Regions from separate parts of the Homo sapiens genome. Here all the other regions are linked to region 4. Evidence: promoter capture Hi-C in 16 types of primary human blood cells and fetal thymus (Javierre and others, 2016). All regions are on one chromosome and are shown on one strand. Each heading gives the region's core, a stretch centred on a gene start or on the middle of the fragment in contact. The rest is flanking DNA. Distances are from core to core; before and after follow the strand shown. Region 1 overlaps FBXO34-AS1 (FBXO34 antisense RNA 1). Region 2 overlaps LOC107984708 (a long non-coding RNA gene). Region 3 has its middle 21 kb from the start of FBXO34. Region 4 holds the start of ATG14 (autophagy related 14).

Region 1 (2,781 bases), core at 131-2,630, 140 kb after region 4:
TGTCTGATTTAATATGTGAGCAATATTAGCTCAATATATCATGATCATTTGAAGCTTCTTTATGTCATAGTTAGCTCAAAATTGTAAAACTTCAGTTTATCCTTTCAGATTCATCTCAAACACTGTCCTTCTTAAAACCTCTTGATTCCTTCTGGGCATGGTGGCTCACGCCTGTAATCCAAGCACTTTGGGAGGCCAAGGCATGCAGATCATTTGAGGTCAGGAGATCAAGACCAGCCTTGCCAACATGGTGAAACCCTATCTCTACTAAAAATACAAAAATTAGCCCGGTGTGGCAGGGCACGCCTGTAGTCCCAGCAACTTGGGAGGCTGAAGCAGGAGAATCGCTTGAACCTGGGAGGTGGAGTTTGCAGTGAGCTGAGACCACACCACTGCACTCCTAACTGGGCGACAAGAGTGAGACTCCATCTAAAAAAAAAAAAAAAACAAACAAAACTTGATTCCTGTTGATTAGAGGACTCAAAAAATTGATATAAAAATGAAATTAATTTTAAAAGACATAATAAAAGCCCGAACTATTAATTATTATATTTTTTCATCTTTTTCTTGAGGCAGGGTCTCACTATGTTGCCCAGGGTGGTCTCAAACTCATGGCCTCAAGCAATCCTCCTTTCTCAGCCTCCCAAATAGCTGGAATTACAGGAGTGAGCCACCATGCCTAGCCTATGAATTATTGATTATTAAAGTCCACAGACATAAAATTATTCTGTCAAATTGCTAGTAAAGTTTCTAAAATCTGATTCTCAATTTCAGTTCTTGTCTCAGATTGGCCAGTGAACCACACTTTAAATAGCCCCAGTCTAGGAGAAAAGAACTAGGAGAGAGCATAACCATGTTAGGCAAGAACTTCCCTTGATTTTGTTTCTCCATTTGTATAATGGCAATGATCCCCTAGAAGCAAAGCCAGTAGAGCCAGTATAGTTTATCAACCCACAGGTCCTGTGGTAGGTCTTCAGGAAGGTGCTCCCCAGGTGGGCATGGGGTGGCACATTGAGGCCATGGGACTGGTGAGAGCCGAAAGAAGAACAAGACTGAGGTGGCACAGCAGCAGAAAAGTTCTAAATATATATAGTATATATATTTGGTTATTCCATTAGTAATTAAAACTTAGTTGTTTCAAGCCAGCAAACATATTAATTAAAACTCAGTTCAAGGGATTTGTCTTGTATAGACTTGGTTTCATTTCTGTTCTTTGCTCAGAAAAAAAAAAAAAAAAAACTAAGAACTTACTGCTTATTCCTTAATAAGCTTACTCCAACCTCCAAATAAAAACACCCACTGCTATGGTTTGAACGTGTCCCCCAAAGTTTATGTGTTAGAAACTTAATCCTCAATGCAACAGTGTTAAGAAGCGGGACCTTTAAGAAGCAATTAGGTCATGAGGGCTCCGTCCTCATGAATGGATTAATGCCATTATCAAGGGAGTGGATTACTTATCAAGAGAGGGAGTTACTATAAAAGCAAGCTTGGCCCTCTCTATCTCTCACTCTGTTAGGTGTTCTCTTGCTCTTCCACCTTATACCATGGGATGATGTAGCAAGAAGCCCCTCAAGAGTTATGAACCCCTTGACCTTGGGCTTCCCAGGCTCCAGAACTGTAAGAAATAGATCTCTGTTCTTTATACATGACCCAGTCTCAGGTGTTCTGTTATAGTAGCATAAAACAGACTAGGACACCCACCATTTCATCTTCTCTCTCTCACCCCCCAACCCTCCTTATCAAACTTACTTCCCCGCTGCTGGAGAAAGGAAACCAAGAGACAGGCTCCATTAGACTTTGCATCTAGACCTACTTTGCTGCAGAACCTAGGCCGCTGGGTGTGATAATGCCTTTCCCTACCTACTTGACTGTGTTATTATAAAGACCAAATAAGAAAAGAGAAGCAGAAGTGCTTTTAAAAGTTTCAACTTTGCAAAAGTAAAGCATGTACTTAAAAAATATGCCTGGAATGTGGCCGTTGGAGCATGCTTCAAGCCCTGAGCTTATGCCCAGGTTTATGCATGTGTGAAGCTCATTGGTGATGACGGGGGGATGGGCAGGAGCTACTCAGCCATGAGAATATAAATATTATCCACAATAAATAGAACAACTCAGGGAAAACTAGAGCACCAAGGCAGCACACTGTCTAACAGATATGATTCTATCTTATAATTAAGATGTGGATGGTGAGGGACATAAAGTTGAATAAGTATTGAAACCCAGGAAATCATAGTTCTTATCCTTCTTATCCTTCTTTTTAGATCTTGTGCCCCTGTGAAAATCTGATAAGAGCTAAAAATCAAGAGTCTCTTTGGAGACTCTTAGCAGAAGTAAAAAAGCACACCCTGATATATACAGACAGTTTAGAAGATAATTTTAATTTTTTTAAAAGTTCCTTAGATTAACTTATCTTATAGTGATCTGCACTCTCATGGTGGGGCGGTGTAAGAGACATGTAGAGCAAGGGCAGCCCTTCCAGTACAATGGATGGGAAACAAATCAAGGTCCCAGATCCTCCTATCCCCACAGTATTGCCCTCAGAACATTCAGAAGGTGGTTTCTACACTGTCAATACAGTGAGCCACACAATTTCCATAGGTATCTCTCTTTTTTTTTTTTTTTTTTTGAGACAGGGTTTTTGCTCTGTCACTTAGGCTAGGCAGCAGTGGCACCAACTCGGCTCACTGTAGCCTTGACCTCCCAGGTTCAAGTGATCCTCCCACCTCATCCTTACAAGTAGCTTGAACCACAGATGCTCGCCACTGTGGCTGGCTAATTTTT
Region 2 (3,007 bases), core at 151-2,650, 200 kb after region 4:
TAGCTGGGATTACAGCCATGCGCCACCACACCCTGCTAATTTTGTATTTTAGTAGAGACAGGGTTTCTCCATGTTGGTCAGGCTGGTCTCGAACTCCTGACCTCAGGTGATCTGCCTGCCTCGGCCTCTCAAAGTGCTGGGATTACAGGCATGAGCCACCACACCTGGCCAGCAAATTCATTTACACAATTATTCAGATAGGAACTTAGGGTCAGGCTAATTTACTTAAAGATTTTTCTTCCTTCTCTTCCCTTTCCCTGAGCCTCCTCTGGGTACTCCTTACACTGGGCCACCATGAACTGCTTCTGCTTGTGCAACTTGCCATATAACTAGGGTCACCAGATAAAATACAGGATGCCCAGTAACATGTGAATTTCAGGTAAACAATGATTTGTTTTTTATTATAAGTATGTCTCAGATATTGCATGAGGATATGCTTATACTAGAAACTTGTTCTTTATCTGAAGTTAACATTCAACTCACAACCCTGAATATTTATTAACTGTAGTTCTGTATTTTTATTTGCTAAATCTGGCAACCTTACACATAATTCTAAGGGCCTATGACAATTTTTAGTTGGCTAAAGGGTAATACCACGGACTTTCCAGACTACAAAATACCTGACTGTTGGAATTTTACTTTTAGATCTGCCTCTTTTATACTTAAAGAGCAATTATAAAGTAAGACCCCGTGTAACCACCACTCAAGTTAAGAAATATGTATATTTTTATTTTATTTTATTTTTATTTTTTTTTTTTTGAGACAGAGTCTCACTCTGTCACCCAGGCTGGAGTGCAGTGGCATGATCTCGGCTCACTGCAACCTCCGCCTCCTCAGTTCAAGCGATTCTTCTGCCTCAGCCTCCCAAGTAGCTGGGACTACAGGCATGTACTACCATGCCCAGCTAATTTTTGTATATTTAGTAGAGACGGGGTTTCACCATATTGGCCAGGCTGTTCTCGAACTCCTGACCTTGTGATCCACCTGCCTTGGCCTCCCAAAGTACTGGGATTACAGGCATGAGCCACCGCGCCAGGCCAGAAATATAGCAATAGAAGGACTATGCGAGTACCTTAGAAGCCATCTGTGTTCCTCTCCTCGGATGGCATCATTCTCCTTCCCCTTAAGGGGTAACCACTATCCTGACTTTTATGATAATCATTCTGTCTGGTGTTTCTTTAGGCTTGCCACCTATATATGCATCCATAAACAATATAGTTCATTTTGACTATTTTTGAACTTTATACAAAAGTTTCTATGTAAGTGATCTTTGTGACTTGTTTCTTTCACCCAACACTGTGTTTATAAAACGTGTCCTTTTTTTTTGAGACGTGGTTTCACTCTGTTGCGCAGGCTGGAGTACTGCAGTATGATTACCGCTTACTGCAGCCTCAACCTCCCAGGCTCAAGTGATCCTACTATCTCAACCTGCAGAGTAGCTGGAACCACAGGCACATGCCACCACACCTGGCTAATTTTTTTTTTTTTTTTTAGAGACAGGGTCTCACTAGGTTGCCCAGGGTGGTCTTAAACTCCTGGGCTCAAGCAATCCTCCCACCTCAGCCACCCAAAGTGTTGGGATTACATGCATGGGCTACCGTGCCTGGCAGTTTATCCATGTCAATGCATGCAGCTGTGGTTCTTTAATTCTTCTTTTGTATAAAAATGTTCCAATATGTGATTGTGCCCATAATTTATTCATCCATTGTACTGTTATGCGCTGATGGTACAGTTTTAACTTAAACTGACAATTTTTTAATGTTTTAAATGTATAGAAATGAGCCCAAATAACTATATCATGTGTAAAATGGGAATAATAAAAGAAAAAATAAAATAATAAAATAACTATCATAAAATAGTTTCATACTATGCAGGAAAATTGCTAATATTTAGTACTCTCTAAAATCTGTTGTTATTGTTTTCATTAATAGGGAAAAATTTAAGATGGCTTATATAAAATGGTTCTCATTTATAGTCATTTAATTTTTTTTTTTTTTTTTTTTTTTTTTTTTGAGACAGAGTCTTGCTCTGTCGCCCAGGCTGGACTGCAATGGCATGATCTCGGCTCACTGCAACCTCTGCCTCCCGGGTTCAAGCGATCCTAGTGCCTCAGCCTACTGACTAGCTGGGATTACAGGCACGCGCCACCACGTCCGGCTAATTTTTGTATTTTTAGTGGAGACGGGGTTTCACCATGTTGGCCAGGCTGGTCTCAAACTCCTGACTCAAGTGATCCGCCCGCTTCGGCCTCCCAAAGTGCTGGGATTGCAGGAGTGAACCACTGTGCCCAGCCTAAATTTTTTTATTGTTGTGCAACATACAAATAATAAAATGAACAAATAAAAATACAGCTTTATGAATTTTTACATATACACCTATGTAATCACCACCCAGATAAAAATGTAGAACATTTCCAGCACCCTCTTAAGATGACTGTCTTACGACGCTTTATTTCCTGTTGCTACCTACTAGAAAGCTGACTGCCTACATTTTTGAACACATGTCTAATACTGGGCCGCATGATGTTGGTTTCTGGGCTTTTGGGTGCCACCATATGGTAAGCCTGCTGTACTGCAATTGATTTCCAAAATAAAAAGTAATAATACAGATTCTGATGTGGTTAACAATGAAAACAGAGGACCTAATATTTCTACTAAAAAAGAAAAAGACTTATCTTCCAAAAGGATAATTTAAGATCATGTACATAATGACATTACATGTTTACAGTTAAATTGATTCTATAATTTTCTACTTGTATATTTAGCATATAAAGAAAAAAATGATTGCAGCCTGGCATTGACATGAGAATACTGATAGAGGCAGGAGGCAGAGAACTCTCCTAGGCAGATAGGGGAGGGTCCCTGGAGAACCCCCGACCCGCCAAGCTCATTGTGCACAGAAGGCTTGCCCAAACATGCCCGCAATGAAAAATTCCGTCCCTTAACACATGCGCAGTAAGGAAATAAATCAATGTGGAGTGGCTCAGACTAAGGACCCGCACGCGCAC
Region 3 (2,903 bases), core at 392-2,891, 160 kb after region 4:
TTCTTTTTAGTGCAGTTTTTAGGTTCGCAGCAAAATTAAGCAGAAAGTACAGAGAGTTCCCATATACCCCTGTTCCCACATATGCACAACCTCGACCACTATCAACATCCCACACTACGGTGATACATTTGTTACAACTGATGAACCTACATTGATACATCATTATCTCCCAAGGTCCATAGTTTACATTAGGTCTCACTCTTGGTGTTATATATTCTTTGGGTTTTGAAAAATGTTTAATGGAATGTATCCACCGTTGCAGTATTGTACAGAATAGCCTCACTGCCCTAAAAGTCCTTTCTTTGTGTCCTGACTATTCACACCTCTTCCTCCAATCCCTGGTAACCACTCATCTTTTTACCATCTCCATAATTTTGCATTTTCTAGAATGTCATATACTTGGAATCATACGTATTTAGCCTTTTCTTTCCTTTTTTTTTTTTTTGAGACAGTCTCTGTCGCCCAGGCTGGAGTGCAGTGGCACAATCTTGGCTCAGTACAACCTCCGCCTCCCGGGTTCAAGCAATTCTGTCTCAGCCTCCCAAGTAGGTGAAATTACAGGTGCCCGCCACCATGCCCGGCTAATTTTTGTATTTTTAGTAGAGACGAGGTTTCACCATGCTGGCCAGGCTGGCCTCGAACTCCTCACCTCACGTGATCCGCCCACCTCAGCCTCCCAATGTGCTGCGATTACAGGTGTGAGCCACTGCACCCAGCCATAGTGGCCTTTTTAAAATTCTTCTGAATGAGGTTAAGATTGTAAAATATTTAATGTCTTTCTCCAGAAGGGCAAAAGTGGCCAGTTATTTGTCTCTACTTGCATAAAGTAGACTTCTAATAATTAGAAATATGACTAGGAATACCACCATTTTCCACAGCAATCCATGAGGACCTGGGCCTGGGATGAGGTACCTGGTTATGCCTCCACCACCTGGCACAGTGTCCCCAGGACAGGTGTGACACAGCATCATCACCATCACTCTGAACCCCTCAGGTTGCCAGGACACTGCCAGCCACATCAGATGCAGAGAGCACCAGTGAGCATTGCACCTAGAACCAAACCAGAAGCTGGCAACAGGCACAGACCTCAGTGGAAGCAGGGGAGGGAAGCCCATAAAACGCTGGCCAAAAGCTCTTCCTCTTCTGAGTACATATTTCATTCCGAGGCCATGAGGGCTTTATTCTGCCACAAAGGTCAAAGAAAACTCCCCATTCTCAGCTCCCTCCTTGATTTTTGTCTAGCCTTTGAATGTGAATGGGGCAATTTACTGGAGGAGTCATACAAATGGTTTCAACTTACTTCACTACTTTTAACTTTAAAAAGCTAAGGATAAGGCAGGGCGCGGTGGCTCATACCTATAATCCCAGCATTTTGGGAGGCTGAGGAGGGCAGAAAACAAGGTCAGGAGTTCGAGACCAGCCTGGCCAATATGGTGAAACCCTGTCTCTACTAAAAATTCAAAAAAAAAAAAAAATTAGCCGGGCATGGTGGCGCATGCCTGTAATCCCAGCTACTCAAGAGGCTGAGGCAGGAGAATTGCTTGAACCCGGGAGGCAGAGGTTGCAATGAGCCAAGATCTCACAACCGCACTCCAACCTGGGCAACAGAGTGAGACTCTACCTCAAAAAAACAAAACAAAACAAAACAAAAAAAACCTAAGGACAAAGCAAGTGGTACTTTCAAAGTCTTCACATTTCTAGAATGTGGAGTCCAACTGTGATCATGGAAATAATTAATAATTCTCACATGTTTCCTGCATGTGGGGTGAAATGTTTGATGACAGAAGCCCTTCAGGTTGCTGCTGTTCAAAATAATAATCTGAGGGGGTATTGAGTGCTGGAGGGATCTCCTCTCTCTCACAGAGGCAAGAGTATTGGGCCACCTGAGCATCTTTTCAATGTGGCACCTGAAAAGTGCCAGTCTCCAGTCCTGGAGCCACGACTGGTCCAGTTCAATGAGTAGCTCTATCTTGTTAACAATGAAACTGTGGCTCAGCTGGGGATTGGTTGATTTTAACTGGGTAGGGATGAGTAAGTGTGCTGACCTCAGCTGGCTTTGCTCATGTGTCCCAGGGTTACCCGGAGGTCCGCTGATCTGGGCTAAGCTGGGCAGCTCTTCTAATCTCAGCTGGACTTGCTCATGTGTTTTGGGGTCAGCAGGGGGTCAGCTGATGTGGGCTGGGCTGGGCAAGCTCAATGTATCTCTCGGTCAGCTGGGAGTCAGTGATGTATGCTGGCCCTAGCTATGCACTGGGACCTGCCTTACCTGTCTCTCATCCTCTTCCTAGAACAACAGGAGAGCTCACTCCTGACTTCCCTTGGCTATAGCAGAGGCACAAGAAAGTCTTTGGAGGGTAATGATCCAATCTGCATTTTTGAAACATTTTCTCTGGCTGCAGGATGTCAGCAACTATTTTGATGGCCTTTTGTCTCCATGAAGTCCTCATCCTCAGAGAAAGAAAAAGTTATCTGGAACTGGGATATAGAGTAAGTGCAGATGTGAATGTCCATTGCTTCTTTGGTTTCTGTGGTTCACTTCACCGGCTCCAGAACCACACCATCTTTGCCAGGATCTGCACCTGCAAAATGCAGGCCCTGTACTCTCCCTCCTTCCCCATGTAACTCCATCTTGAAACAAATGCTTGAGTCTAGGTAGTGGAATCTACATCACTCGTATGCACCCTAACAAGAAGGAAATCTTGGAAAGGGAGTTTGGGGTTCTACATTGAGAAGGCAGGATTTCTACTGAGGAACTATGATAACGAAGATAGACTATTTGGAAGATTTCGGGCAGCTGCGAATGACAGATGTTCATGACAGTTGCCGTACTTGTCTCATGTGATCTGGCTACTCAGGACAAAGCTGCTCATCTATAGACTGGACATAAAGCAAAGCATTGCCAT
Region 4 (3,145 bases), core at 21-2,520:
TATAGAGAATTTTTGCTTTTGCTTGTTTTTGTAATCCTACGTGATTTGTATTTAAAAAGACTGGGTAAGATTAAGAAGACGGAGGAGCAAAGGGCTCAGATTCAAGACCTAATTAGCTTGTAGAATCACCAGTTTTCGATGGTGATGTGGAGATTAACAGGGAGGGACGGGCTAATATGAATCATGGCTCTTGGCTGTAAATCATCAGTGATTACGTCCTTTACCAAAGTAAGAAAACAGGTTTGTAGGGAGGCAGAAGTCAGTTTCCAACACTTTGAGTTTGTGGTGTCCTGGAATGTCACCTGATACCTAGTAAGTAGTTCTGGATCTTTGGGTATGGAACTTGAGAAAGGAATCCTGGCTAGAGAGAGAATTCAGGGCAGTTTATCAGTAGATAGCCTAGTAAAATCATCCTTGAGAATCACTGGTCTATTTAATCTCACCTATAAACTCACTTTTCTCTGTAGTTTAGAGGCATATTCAAACACTAATTACTCTGATATGATCCTCCCAACACATCACCTTATATATCCCCTATCCACCAAAAGAAACTTGAAGGGAAGTCCTAACCATCTACCTAGTTCAAATTCTCTTAGAGCATGGCCCAGGGTAGGGAAGGTACGTTAGCCACGTGATTAACTTTTCAGAAGGATACAATTCTGATTTTGCACGTTCACTTTGGTTGTTTTCACTATTGGTAAAGTATAATACTATTAACCATATTAATCCTCACGGCATTAGATGGGTACTATAATTCTATCCATTTAACACGAGAGAACAGGCGCAGAGAGATTAAGGAACTTGCCCCAAGTCACACAGCTATTAAGCAGGTGAGTGAGCCAAAATTCAACCTAGTTCCAAGACCCAGCCCCTTCACCCTACTTTGTTTGCTGTAGTTTAGCCAGATTTTAAAGCATCCACAGCAAGTTAAATTCCCTTATTCCGCTCCCATTCCGTTTTCCCAGAATCCTTAGGGTATGGTATTACAATTTTCTGCACAAGTTTGAGGCTTTAACTCGTAGTCTTGGCCTGAGCCAGCAGATGACATTTTGTTTGGCCGACTAGCCCCTCTAATATAACTCTCCCCCTGCTTCGGGACCTGTTGCCCCTCAGCAGACCGGAAAAACAACAGTGCCCGGGACAGGAACACGCGGCGGCGGAGGGGTCCGGGGGCTCGCCGGCATCCCAGCCCCCCTTCCCCAGGCCCCTCCTCCTGGCCCAGAATGCACCCGGTTGAAAACAAAATCCCACGTGACTGGCTCTCCTCTCAGGCCATCATGGCGTCTCCCAGTGGGAAGGGAGCCCGGGCGCTGGAGGCTCCTGGCTGCGGGCCCCGGCCGCTCGCCCGGGACCTGGTGGACTCCGTGGACGATGCGGAGGGGCTGTACGTGGCTGTGGAGCGCTGCCCGCTGTGCAACACTACCCGCCGGCGGCTGACCTGCGCCAAATGCGTTCAGAGCGGCGATTTCGTCTACTTCGACGGCCGCGACCGGGAGAGGTACGGCGGCCGCCACGGCCCTATTGTTTCTTCTGCTGTGTGTCCTCCAGCCAGGCAGCCGAAGGCTGGAACCTGGGGCTCCCCGTCCGGGCACCAGATACCAGCGAGAGGAGCGAGAGAGAGGGAGTGTAGCTAGCTGCTCTGCACCGGAGCTTTGCTACCAGAGGACAGCGTAGGGGCCAGATGAGGGAAGGTCGCCGTTTCCCCATCACCCACCCAAGAGGAGTTTGACCCCACGGTGCTCTTGGTCACTGGGGAAAAAAGGAATAAGTGGTGACTCTCTGGAGAAGTTTTCCCGTTGCTGCCATTAAGTTAGATTCCCAGCTCTTTGCTGTATGTACTCCCATTCAAAAGCTTGGCTTTCTATTTTCGAAAGCATATTTATACTCATTCTCTAGAGGAGAGAGTAGAAGAGAATCAAATAACTGCTTTAGAGGGATTTGGGCCTGGTAGTCTGTCACAGATGGACTTTGTTATCAGACATGCTTACTCTAATGTGTGAATTGAGGCTTGCTGTTAACGCCCCTTTCCCCTCCCTGCCTCTAAAGATTATTTTAGATTCTTAGGAATTTGGGAACGTGTTTTGGCCTTGTTTTAAAATTCAGATTGGGAGCTGCATGCTTTTAGTTAAGAGAATTGCCTTTAGGAAAATGTTTTGGTTTCATTTCGAAATCTAAACAGCTACAAGTTCTTGGTTAAGAAAATTGAAAAATTAGTGTGATTAGCTGCAGGATCTCCCACTCTCAACTTATGTTTCAACAATTTAGTGTCAATGATAGTCAATGATAGTAAGATAGCTAGCATTCTGAGCACAAAAATTCAGGTATTAATTCATTCGCAACAACCGAATGACTTATCCCCAACTTATTAGGAAGCTGCACAGTAAGTGCTTTGCCCCAGGTCACACAAATAGTTAAGTGTTGGTACAAGAATTAAAATTCAGACAGCTTGGACCTATGTACCCGCACTTAACCACTAGACTTTATATCCTCTATATTTGGGAATGTTTTGAGTTCTTAGTATTTCTGTGATCGTGGATGGAGTTCTTTCCTTTCTCTTTTGAGGAGGTTTGAATGACAAACTCTTTTTTAGTTTTGTTGCTGTGTCTTATTGGTGCTCTTGATGACTTTAGAAACTGCTTATGTAGTAAGTGATAGCTTTAAAAATTAAACCAGTTATAAGAATACGGGGTATGAGATGGAAATGTCTAACTGATGGAGTGAATCGAGGATTTGGTTCTGGACCTTCTTGTCTGTCTACACGTTTTACTATGTCTATTCACATAATTTAAATACCATCTATATGCTTAAGACTGCCAGACTTGTATCTCCAACCTAGTCTTCTCTAAAGTCCAGAAAACAGCTGCTTATTCAACATCAATATTTTTAGATTTGTAATAGATATCTTCATTTTAATATGGCAAACTGAACTCCTTGTTTTCCATCATAAATCTGTTTTCCCATGCTCATCCCAACCCAGTAAATGTCAATCTCATTGTTCCTTTGGTTCAGGCTAAAAAACCTTTCAGTTCTCCTTGACTCCTCTCTTAACCCAACTCTGTTTAGTCCCATCAACAAATCCCATCTACTCTTCAAAACTTATCTTACAACAAATCCCATCTACTCTTCAAAACTTATCTTAAATCTT

The links. Contacts are between HindIII fragments. The CHiCAGO score rates a contact against its expected background, and 5 or more counts as called.
Region 1: a contact is called between a fragment that was not itself captured here and the fragment with the promoter of ATG14 in region 4, in 11 of 17 cell types (non-activated CD4 T cells, erythroblasts, activated CD4 T cells and 8 more). The highest score is 10.8, in non-activated CD4 T cells.
Region 2: a fragment that was not itself captured here is called in contact with the fragment with the promoter of ATG14 in region 4 in 7 of 17 cell types (activated CD4 T cells, non-activated CD4 T cells, erythroblasts and 4 more); the score reaches 7.4 in activated CD4 T cells.
Region 3: a contact is called between a fragment that was not itself captured here and the fragment with the promoter of ATG14 in region 4, in 3 of 17 cell types (activated CD4 T cells, non-activated CD4 T cells and total CD4 T cells). The highest score is 5.5, in activated CD4 T cells.

The regions. Positions count from the first base shown.
Region 1 is chr14:55,267,241-55,270,021 of GRCh38, reverse strand. The region is part of intron 1 of FBXO34-AS1 (FBXO34 antisense RNA 1); the gene reads left to right. Among named protein-coding and RNA genes, the nearest start is that of FBXO34, 2.8 kb to the left of the region's middle. The HindIII fragment of the contact is 217 bases long and covers 1,272-1,488 here.
Region 2 is chr14:55,212,787-55,215,793 of GRCh38, reverse strand. All of the region lies in intron 2 of LOC107984708 (a long non-coding RNA gene), which reads right to left. Among named protein-coding and RNA genes, the nearest start is that of DLGAP5, 23 kb to the right of the region's middle. The HindIII fragment of the contact is 4,492 bases long and covers 1-3,007 here.
Region 3 is chr14:55,248,797-55,251,699 of GRCh38, reverse strand. No RefSeq gene overlaps it. Among named protein-coding and RNA genes, the nearest start is that of FBXO34, 21 kb to the left of the region's middle. The HindIII fragment of the contact is 8,647 bases long and covers 1-2,903 here.
Region 4 is chr14:55,409,955-55,413,099 of GRCh38, reverse strand. It overlaps ATG14 (autophagy related 14), which reads left to right and starts at 1,270. Exons shown (of 10, transcript NM_014924.5): 1 at 1,270-1,498. The coding sequence starts at 1,278. It also overlaps a transcript of FBXO34 not described here. RefSeq lists a silencer at 981-1,280. The HindIII fragment of the contact is 5,042 bases long and covers 1-1,854 here.